2 separate regions of the Homo sapiens genome follow, and region 1 is linked to region 2. The links are contacts of gene promoters, found by promoter capture Hi-C in blood cells and fetal thymus (Javierre and others, 2016). All regions are on one chromosome and are shown on one strand. The core of a region is centred on a gene start or on the middle of the fragment in contact, and the rest is flanking DNA. Distances in the headings are between cores, read along the strand shown.

Region 1 (4,654 bases), core at 2,003-4,502, 100 kb after region 2:
GTGTGAGGAGGGGGCTTTGGGAAGTGTCAGGTCATGAGGGCAGAGCCTTTGGAGTGGGATTCACCATGTGAGGACACAGTGAGAGGGCACTGTCTGCAAACTCGGCCTCTTCAGAGCCCTACTGTGCGGGCACCCTGATCTTGGACTTCCAGCCTCCAGCACTGTGAGGAATCAATGTCTGTTTTTTATAAGCCATCCAGTCTACAGCATTTTGTTACAGTAGTCTCAACAGACTGAGACATGTCCCCATCTGTAGACAGGCAGCGAGGCTGCAGTAGGAGGCTGAAAAGGTGGGAGATGCCAGGAAGGCAACTCCACAGAGATGCACTGCCTACCCCCAAAAACTCCCCCTCCCCATCAGCCAGTTCCCCACCAGCAGGGAGACAGGACTTTACCTCCTCAGCCAGAGCCTTTGAAGGTATCCAGATGCTCTGTTTCCTGGATCCCGTTCCCTGTTCCCTTCTCCTCTGGCCCCAGGCCTCCTCCATCTCCCTGGTGAGCTCATTGGTCCCTCCCCCTACCCGTGGCACTGCTGTCTTTAGTCACTACCATCCTGGCTGTTTACCAAAGCCACTCACCCAACAGTTGCGAAGTTGAACACTGGGGTCAGGAAGGCCACACACATAGCAAAGCATAAGCGTTACAAACTATGGCCCCCATCAGGCAAAGACGATGGACGCCTGGCTGCAGCGTCAGGGACCCAGGAGCAGCAGAGGCAGTGGTGAACAGAGAGCAGGAGCTGGGGCACAGTGGCAGCCACACCTAGCCACTATAGGATGTGGCCACTGGACAGTGGGAGCTGGTGGGCCACATGGGGCTCTTGGTGGGCCCCTCCACACTGCAGGCTTCTGGCATACCATCTTTAGACTAGAGAAGGCCCCCAAGCATTGGCCCTTAGGCCTTCAGAGCACCTTAGAGAGGTTTTTATCATTGTTTTTCTCTTATCTGGTGTCATTATGCCCATGTACAATTAAGGAGTTGGGAGTGCTGCGGCCCGACCTGTGACTTAGAGAAAAGAGATTTTATTCAAACTTTATTCATTGATGTCACTATCACTATCATAAATGTACTTACTTGGTGTCAATACCCACTGGTAAGTAGCAGAACAGTGGGTTTTGTGAGGTGGGAACAAGGACCTCAGGTTATATTTTTTAAAGGTTAGAGTAGAGGGTATGTTCTTATGCTGCAATCTCCTGTTTGCGGAGGGTAGTGGGGGGTGGGGGACAAAAACTGGTCTGTTCTAGGGTCTATCTGTTTCCTTAAAGTCTTAGTTTGATTCCATCACATTTAGCATGAGTGTCTCCATTTTGGTTTGGTCTGGTCTGTTGGGGTCTAGTGCATGAGCTCAGTCCAAAACAATGGTCTCTCATAATGTTGATTAAAAATTACTCCCTTTTGGTCAGGTTCTAACTTAGGTAAGAGTATGATTAAAACTTAGGACCTTAGCACCACTCTCAGTTACCATGATTTGGGGCTTCTGGCCTTAGCATGTCATAGGTTACAGTGCCTTCATGGTCACACATTTCTTTCAGTTCTTGTCATTCTAGTTGAAGAGAGACCATTTGACATTCTAGAGATGGCTGCATGCAAACATTTAAAACTTTTGAAAGAATATAGCACATCAGGGAGGCTACTATTATGATCATCAGAAGGATAACACCAAGAGTTTGGAGTATGCTCCTTAGCCAGGGTCCCCATGAACCTAACCAACTAAAATCAAATAGAGCAAATAATGAGCTATACAAAAAGTCTGCTTGCTTTAACCAAGCAGCCTGTTCATTAATCCCCTACAACTGACTCTCTATAATATCTGATTTATTCCTCCACGGGCAACAAGAAGTGCCAGCAACTACAAAGATACTTCTCTGTTTGGCCGGTAAGAAATCTAGAGCAGTTTTATTACTTAGCATAATTTTCACAAGAGAATTTAAAGTCTGCTGTGTAACCATAGCCTTTACAGTAGAATCTGCTATAGAGCCTATCATGAGGGATACATTTCTAACAATTTCCTAATTTACTTCAAACCATGGAAAAAGGCACCTAACAAATGTTACCCATCTAGAAGAATGAAGACTTCCTGGCAATGTTCTCTTTAACCCATGATGTAGGTTAAGAGGAGTAGACAAATGTTCTGTTTCTGACTATGAGGTAACAAATGTATCATTAAAATTTGTCACCTATGTTGGGCCTTCGTCATCCATCTATCGAGGCATAGGCTGTTGATGTACAAAGCTGGCACAAAATCCCTTGCAAATAAAAGTATACCCCATGAATGCACACAATAGACCTCCTTTCCACTTCTATTGTTTACAGAAGCATAAGGAAGGAAAAAATAGATAGATAAGAGTCTCATGATAGCAGAGAAATCTTGATCCCTGATCGTGGGACAAAGCTGTCCATGTCAAGGATGCTGTCTTCTTATGGGGAGAAACATCCCTGGTTAGCTTTACCGTAAGGTTTCCAATGGGTGTACAGTTCCAAGAGTGTGGAGAGACCTTTCTGAGTTGTGAGATTACAAACCCAAGGTTCAAGGTCACCAAATTTTGTTGCAGTATATATGGCAAGGGCAGTCTTTCTTTAATGTTCTCAGAAGATCCAACTTTCAAGCTCTAGGCTATGAAGGGGTTGGTTGTCTTCAGTCAGTGGACTATAAAAAATATTCTTTACCTGTGAACATATACTTAGGCATAATGAGCCGCTGTTATAACAACAGCCCTCTTGCATGAGAAAGCTTTTATACAACCAGAAAACGTGCATTGAAAATGACAATTAAATGAAATCCCTCTATAAATGTTTACATGGCCTGTCAGGTAGTGAAAATGTACTTGAAGTTTTGATTGTCCTCCCAGGAATATGGATTTGACAAACTAAACATTGGTCATAAACTATTTTAGCAATTTAGAACAGTCACCATATAGATATATTTAATTTGGATCATTTTATCTCTTCCATGATGATTCATGGAATGCAGAGCTTTTAATATGGAAAGTTTGAAGGACTCAGGAAGGACAAGGAGGCTATCTGGGTTCTCCATGAGTCCACGTTTAACACTGGACTTATGTCCTCTTAAATACCATTTTTTCTCCTATTTAGGTGCATAGTACTGATAACTGATGGGTTATCATAGGGAATTTGACTTGGACCATAGAGTTTATTCAAATAGTATATCCAAACAATTTTAGTACTGGCTGATTTAACATGAAAATCTGGCAAAGTATTTTCTTGGTATTCAATTAATTTTTGTCCTGCTTGGGTTAGTAGTTTTACAAACCAGTTGTGTCATCATTTGCTCAAATCAAGGAAAAAAAATGGTGCTCACATAAAAGTTCAGTCAAGACAAGATGGCCAGAAAAGCACCTTAGACAAAAGTACGATTTATTATGTAAATTTAAAACAGTGGTAAAATTTCCAATGTACATAGGCAGACATCCTTAAAAATGGAGATTCCTTAATAGGTGTACATTTCTTTTACAAAAGGGTTTCAGGTTAGCCAATCATATTCCAGAAAGGTGTATTTTAGTTAAATAGGTGTTCCGTTTAACTTAGCTACTGTTTCTTGGCTAAAATTACTGGGTTCACAGTGGACTCCATTAAGGAATAGGGCAGAGAAAGCATCCTTTATGCCTGGACTCAGCAGGGAGAGATCTGAAAAAGAAGCCTTTCCTTTTATAAACGCTTTAGGCTAGCTTTCTTTCTGCTATTAGGGCAGGATGATGACAAAACTAAAAGGTCAGCAGATTCAATTTTTCTTATCAATCAGTCACTTAAGCTTTTTATTTGCCTTTTATAAAAAGCCTTTTAAAATATTAAAGTCTCTTTAGAACTTCTGCATATCACTAGGCATCCCTAGATGAGACTAATTTGAAAGCCCTCATTTTCAAATGCACTTCTTCAAGTGCAGAGTTGTTCGTTTGGATCATTCTACTGTAACTTATCTTTAGTAAAATTTCATAATTTCTGTAAGTCTTTGTTGCTTCCAGGGCCTAATACTTACCCATCGATAAACCAGAAGGTACTGAGTTCTTCAGAAATTAAGGATCTCATTTTTACCTCAAATATTGGCTTTGGCTCTCAGGCCCCCTTGATCAACTTAGCCAGTGATTTTTCGTTCCCAAAGCATGCAAGAAGAAAGAAACAAAGGAGGTAGAACACAAAAATCCCTGTCAATTTCCCAAAGCCAAAGTTTACACCTCCTACAGCATTGCCTTTTACTACTGGTTTCTTTCTGACCCAGTTAGAGGTCTCTTATAAACCTCTAACTAGATCCAAGCCAGTTAATTATTGAATCCAATCCAATTCTGAATCCAGTTCAGTTTCTGTCATGCCTTCCAAACACAGTTTGGATCATAAATTAGCTCAAAGAAACTTGAAGAGCTCAGAACACAAATCCATGGAGCTTTGGAATCCTGGAGAGAACTTACCAGGATCCCCAGTCACTGCCAGAGAACAATGAACACAATGGGCCTGGCGGGAACCTTGCTTGGCCACTTGGTGCTCCTGGAGGTCACCAAAAGCTCTACTTTGGATCTCACTTCTGACATCATCTGTTAAAAGGGAAACCTTAGCCAAATTAAATTTTATAGAGTTTAATTGACCAAAGAATTATTCATGAATCAGGCAGCCTTCCAAGTAGGCTCAGAGACTCCAGTGAAGC
Region 2 (4,602 bases), core at 1,688-4,187:
CTTGAAGCATGGCTGGGGACAGGGGAGCTGAGAGTAGGGGGAATTGTTGCTTCCCACCTGGGAAGGGTGAGGAGAAGTCAGTCACTGTGGGAGGTCACAGGGCTTGATGGCCACAGTGGGCCCTTTGTGCACAGACCATTGAGCCACTGAATGGGGCCCTCAAAATGCTTCCTGGAAGAGGGCAGGCTGGGCTCAGACCCCCGGGCAGGCATGAGCTAGTGGGGAGGCTGGAAGTCTCAGGTATGTGTGTGGAACAGGGGATGAGGACAAGATTGGTGGCTACAGTACTGTGGAAGAGAGCACCAGACCTTGAAGAGCTTCTCCAAAGATCCCATATCCATTGGCAGCTTTACTGGGGCAAGAAGAAAATCTCATTTCCTCAACATGTTTCAGAAGTGTTCTAGGTTCTGGGGATACAGCAGTGAATAAAAAAATACAAGTCCATGCTCTTAAGGAGCTTGTCTCCTGATAGGAGAGACAGGCAAGAAACAAATCAATAAATAATATAAAGATCAGGATCATGAAGCAAAATAAACAGAGGCCAGGAAACTGAGGGCAGCAGATGTGCTGTTTTAGACGGGATGGGTGAGGAAGGTGTCTGGGATAAGGTGGCATCTGAGCAGAGACCTGAGTATGCGATGGAGCAATCCATGCAGCTGTTTAGGGGGAAACAAGAGACAATAGAAGAACGTTTCCCTGAACGAAGAAAGACTTGAGTTTCCAGATTAAAAGGATACACCAAGCATAGAGTAGTAACAATGAAAACAGAAGGAGGCTAGAGTCAGACATATCCTGGTAAAATGTGTGAAATTCAAGCATGGAGAAAGATCACTCCAAAAAGGCACCAGGCCCAAATGGTTTTATAGGCAAGGTCATACAATATTTAACCAATATAATTTATATCCTTCCAAGGCCCTTTTCTATACTTGATTATGTAGAAGTAGGGAAGGAATTGCTTTGGAAGAAAAGAAACTTAGAGATTTTCACTGCTATGAAGATAAATCTTTACTGTTTTTGGTCATCTGTTTTGAAGAGCACCACCTGACTTTGTTCTCTCCTTTCTGCCAAGGAATCTCAATGATAGATTCTCCCCACTATATTGAGGGAGCTTTTCTCCTTAGATATGGTTTGGGGTAAATGCTGTACCTAGCTGTAGGGCATTAAAGATTGTGGTGAAAACTTGGGCTTTACTTACTCTGAGTGAGTTGGGAGCTGCTGGAAGCTTCTGAACCCAGAAGGGACCTGATCTGACTCAGGTTTTAACAGGACCATCTTGGCTGTTCTCCAGTTTCTAGCCAGTGGGGCCTCCTCCCTGTGTGCTGAAGGTGCTAACGATGTGTCTTTGCTTCCAAGCTTTTTCTGACCTTTTGCTGCAGCTTTCACCAAGGAGATGGGAGGCACTAGACTGAGAGTATGTGAGGAGTGAAGACCGAGGGCGGGCAGGGCAGATGGAGAAGTGCTGTGGCTATGCCCAATCCAGACCTGCACTGAGACAAAATGAGGAATACAGGCCTCTATCTCTTCTCTTATGAAAATGGACAAATTCCACTGTTCTGCCCAGGCTAGCCAGGGCTGCTGTAATGCCAGAGTGGTCATTCCAACTTCTGTGAACTAGAAAGCCTCTCACCATCCTCAACACAAATGTCCTTAAAGCCCTCTGGCAACGCATTGGTTTGGCTCCTAGTGGCAGCAGCAGCTGAATCCCTGGCACTGACCTGGTGCACAGTGTCCCCAGATCCCTGGTCAAGCAAGCCTAGACCTATAGCATTCCAGAGAGCCTGGAAAGGGTATGGTTAAAAATTCCTGTTCTAGCAATGTCTTCAAGAAGAAGCAGGAGAAAATGCTCCCCACCTCCCAGTGCCAGGAGGGGAGAGGAAGGAAGCTCAGTAGGACAGCTCTGCACAGGTGGCCTGGGGGTGTCTGCAAGATGACCTGGCTCTACCTCTCTACCTGCTCCTTCCCAGCTGTGGGGCTGGGGAGGGCTGGTGCCCTCTCTGAGTCGGTTTCTTCATCTGTAAAGTGCTTGGCTGAGGATCCAGCTGGAGTGTGGATTAAAGGGCACAGCAGGGTGCCTAGCACCGTCAGCCCACGTGTTTTTCTTGGGCAAGCCACTCTGAGCCTTACTCTTCCTGTCTCTAAGCGGGAACCCAAATGCGAGCCAGGATTGCTGCGGACTAAAGCAGTCTACGAACGCTTTTGTAGACTGCGAAGCATTGTTTGGTCTTCAGAAAGGTGCCCCAGAGACAAGGTGTCATTGGTTTCAGGTGGGGGGGGGGGGGGCCGGTCAGCAAACCTCCTTAGTCCTGGAGGGCAGGGTGGCAGCGCAGAGCGCGCGCAATTTCCGGAGGGTAACTGATTGTCCTGCTGAAAGCCCAATACCGTATTTATCCAAAAATACGTCCTTCTAGGCAAGTGATTTATCTGACACTCAGCGGGGGACAGAGCTGCTTGTACCGCGCTGGGGATGAAGGTGGGGACGTGGGCCAGACCGGGCCAGACAGGCTCCCCAGCGCTTCCCGCTCAATCACGCAGACTGCACTTTGGGGCGATCTCAGAGCTTTTCTTAAGTCTTCAGGCCAGTCTCACGTTCTCACCTTGGGAACCGAGCTTTAGAAGCCGGCCCTCGTGGACGCCGCGAGACAGCGGCGAGAGGTGGGAAGCAAGGAGGTGGCTGCGGGCCAGGGACCAGGCAGCGTGTTGGGGGGCGTGCGCGTCTGGCAGCTCCGGGATCCCCGAGCATCCGCCGCTCAAGTCCGGGAGCCGCGCGGGCGGGCCGGGGCGGGGCCAGGGCGGGGCCAGGGCGGGGCGGGACGTGTGACGCGCAGCGCGGGCCAATGGGGCGCGCGCCCGGGGCCGAGCCTCCTGCGAGCCTTCGCGGCGCCCGCTGCGTCACGTGAGCGGCGGGGAGTGAGTGCCCAGCGAGCTGCGGGCGGGCTAGTGCTCCGCCGCAGCGACCCGCGGGCCGGCGGGCGATCGAGCCAGCGCAGGACCCGCGGCTCGGCCCCCGGCCGCCGCCGGACCGAGAGTCTAGCCGCCGCCCCCAGCCCAGCCCGCCCGGCCGCAGGACCGCCGGGGCCTGGCCGCCGGTCCGGCGTGCGCCAAGTTCAGGTGGGAGAGGCGCGGCGGGGCCGGCCGGCCGCGTGGACGCGGCCCCGGGTGATCAGAGGGCTGGCCGGCCTCGGGGCGCGTGGCCGTGCTCCCGCGCAGCTCTCGGAGGCACCGCGCGAGTGCTGGAGGAATGTCGGAGGAGCGGGATGGGCCCCCGCGGAGGTGGGCAGGGGTCGGACTGGCCCGGGGGAGGTGACCCCCCCCGCCCCGGTCGCCCACCAGCACTTTGCTGAGGCCCGCGCCGCCGCCTCGGTGCCTGGCCGGGCGATTCCGTGGCGCGCCTTGCGGGCCGGCCCTCCCATATGGTGGGCACCGGCGCGGCCTGGTGAGAGGAGGGGGAGAGCGGACGCGCTGGCCAGCCCGGGGTTGGGGGGCGGAGGGGCTGGAGACGGAGGGGTTACTGTCGGTCACCGCAGCAGTGTCGGGGGCAAGGGGGGGGCGTGGGACGAGGGCATGGTGCCCAGCGGGCAGCGGTCCAGGACTCTAGAAGGGGTCTGAGCCGGCTCTCTTCATTTCCCACGCACGTTTCCCCTCACCCGCCGGCACCCACGGCGGCTCCACGCGCGAGTCCTTCGCGGACAGCCTCCCGCACAGCCACAGCGGCTGCCGCGCACCACGCCCCGCACACGCAGTCACACGACAGGAACTCACACCCCTTCACGCACACCCGCACCGTTCACGCGTCTCACTCCACGCTGAGTCCCCGTCCGCTCAGACCGAACATTACCAAAGCCATGGCCTGACCGAGGGATGGCGGCGGCGGGGCAGAGAGGCCGTCCCCATCCCATATGGTGGTCCGGTTCACTCTTCCCTCCCCGCCTTGGTGTTACTCATGGAACCCCCCTCTCACGGAGGGCACAGAGGGGCTGTTTTCTCCCACGGCCCTCGGAGGTGACAAAATCAACAATTGTTTGAGAGCCTCAAATCTCCTTCCCCCTGTCCCCCCGGACCAGGTGGCCCCTGGGGAGACCCTGCCGCCCTACAGGTGTGAGGACGCCCGGACTCTGCGACTTTGGGGCCTGCGGGCGGCTCAGGGACCGGAGACTCTTATTTTGAAGGACAGCCCCCGCCGCCACCCCCGTGATTTGCACGCTGACCCAATGGCAAGCCCTTGGCCGGCGCTGGGCTTGTTATCAATTACATGTTGTTCCTGCAGCCGCTGTGTCCCCGGGAGGATAAACAGCAGGCCTGGCCGGGCCAGGGGAGGGGGCGGAGTCCGGCGGCCAGCCGGGGACTGTGCCCGGAACAGCGTGTCCCCTCCCCCTGCACGCAGCCTGCGCCTCTGGCCGCCCCACGTGCTGCTGTGTTTCAGGGGCCGAGCCAGCTCCAGCCCTAGAGTGTCCTCTCTTTAATGCCGGTGCCCTGGGACATCCCAGAGCCCTTTCTGGGTTGTCAGTGCCTGGGTGCTTCCCCCTTGGGACGTTCAGCCCAGCATTAAGACCCTGTTGGCTGACCTGGGCCACCCATTCCTACTCTCCGACCTCCCCCGCTCTC

Evidence for each region. Contacts are between HindIII fragments. The CHiCAGO score rates a contact against its expected background, and 5 or more counts as called.
Region 1: a fragment that was not itself captured here is called in contact with the fragment with the promoter of KLF15 in region 2 in 1 of 17 cell types (endothelial precursors); the score reaches 5.1 in endothelial precursors.

The regions. Positions count from the first base shown.
Region 1 is chr3:126,252,354-126,257,007 of GRCh38, reverse strand. No RefSeq gene overlaps it. Among named protein-coding and RNA genes, the nearest start is that of ALDH1L1, 74 kb to the right of the region's middle. The HindIII fragment of the contact is 1,038 bases long and covers 2,734-3,771 here.
Region 2 is chr3:126,355,743-126,360,344 of GRCh38, reverse strand. It overlaps KLF15 (KLF transcription factor 15), which reads left to right and starts at 2,937. Exons shown (of 3, transcript NM_014079.4): 1 at 2,937-3,108. RefSeq lists a silencer at 2,758-2,977 and enhancers at 2,876-3,635, 3,636-4,395. The HindIII fragment of the contact is 4,432 bases long and covers 1,356-4,602 here.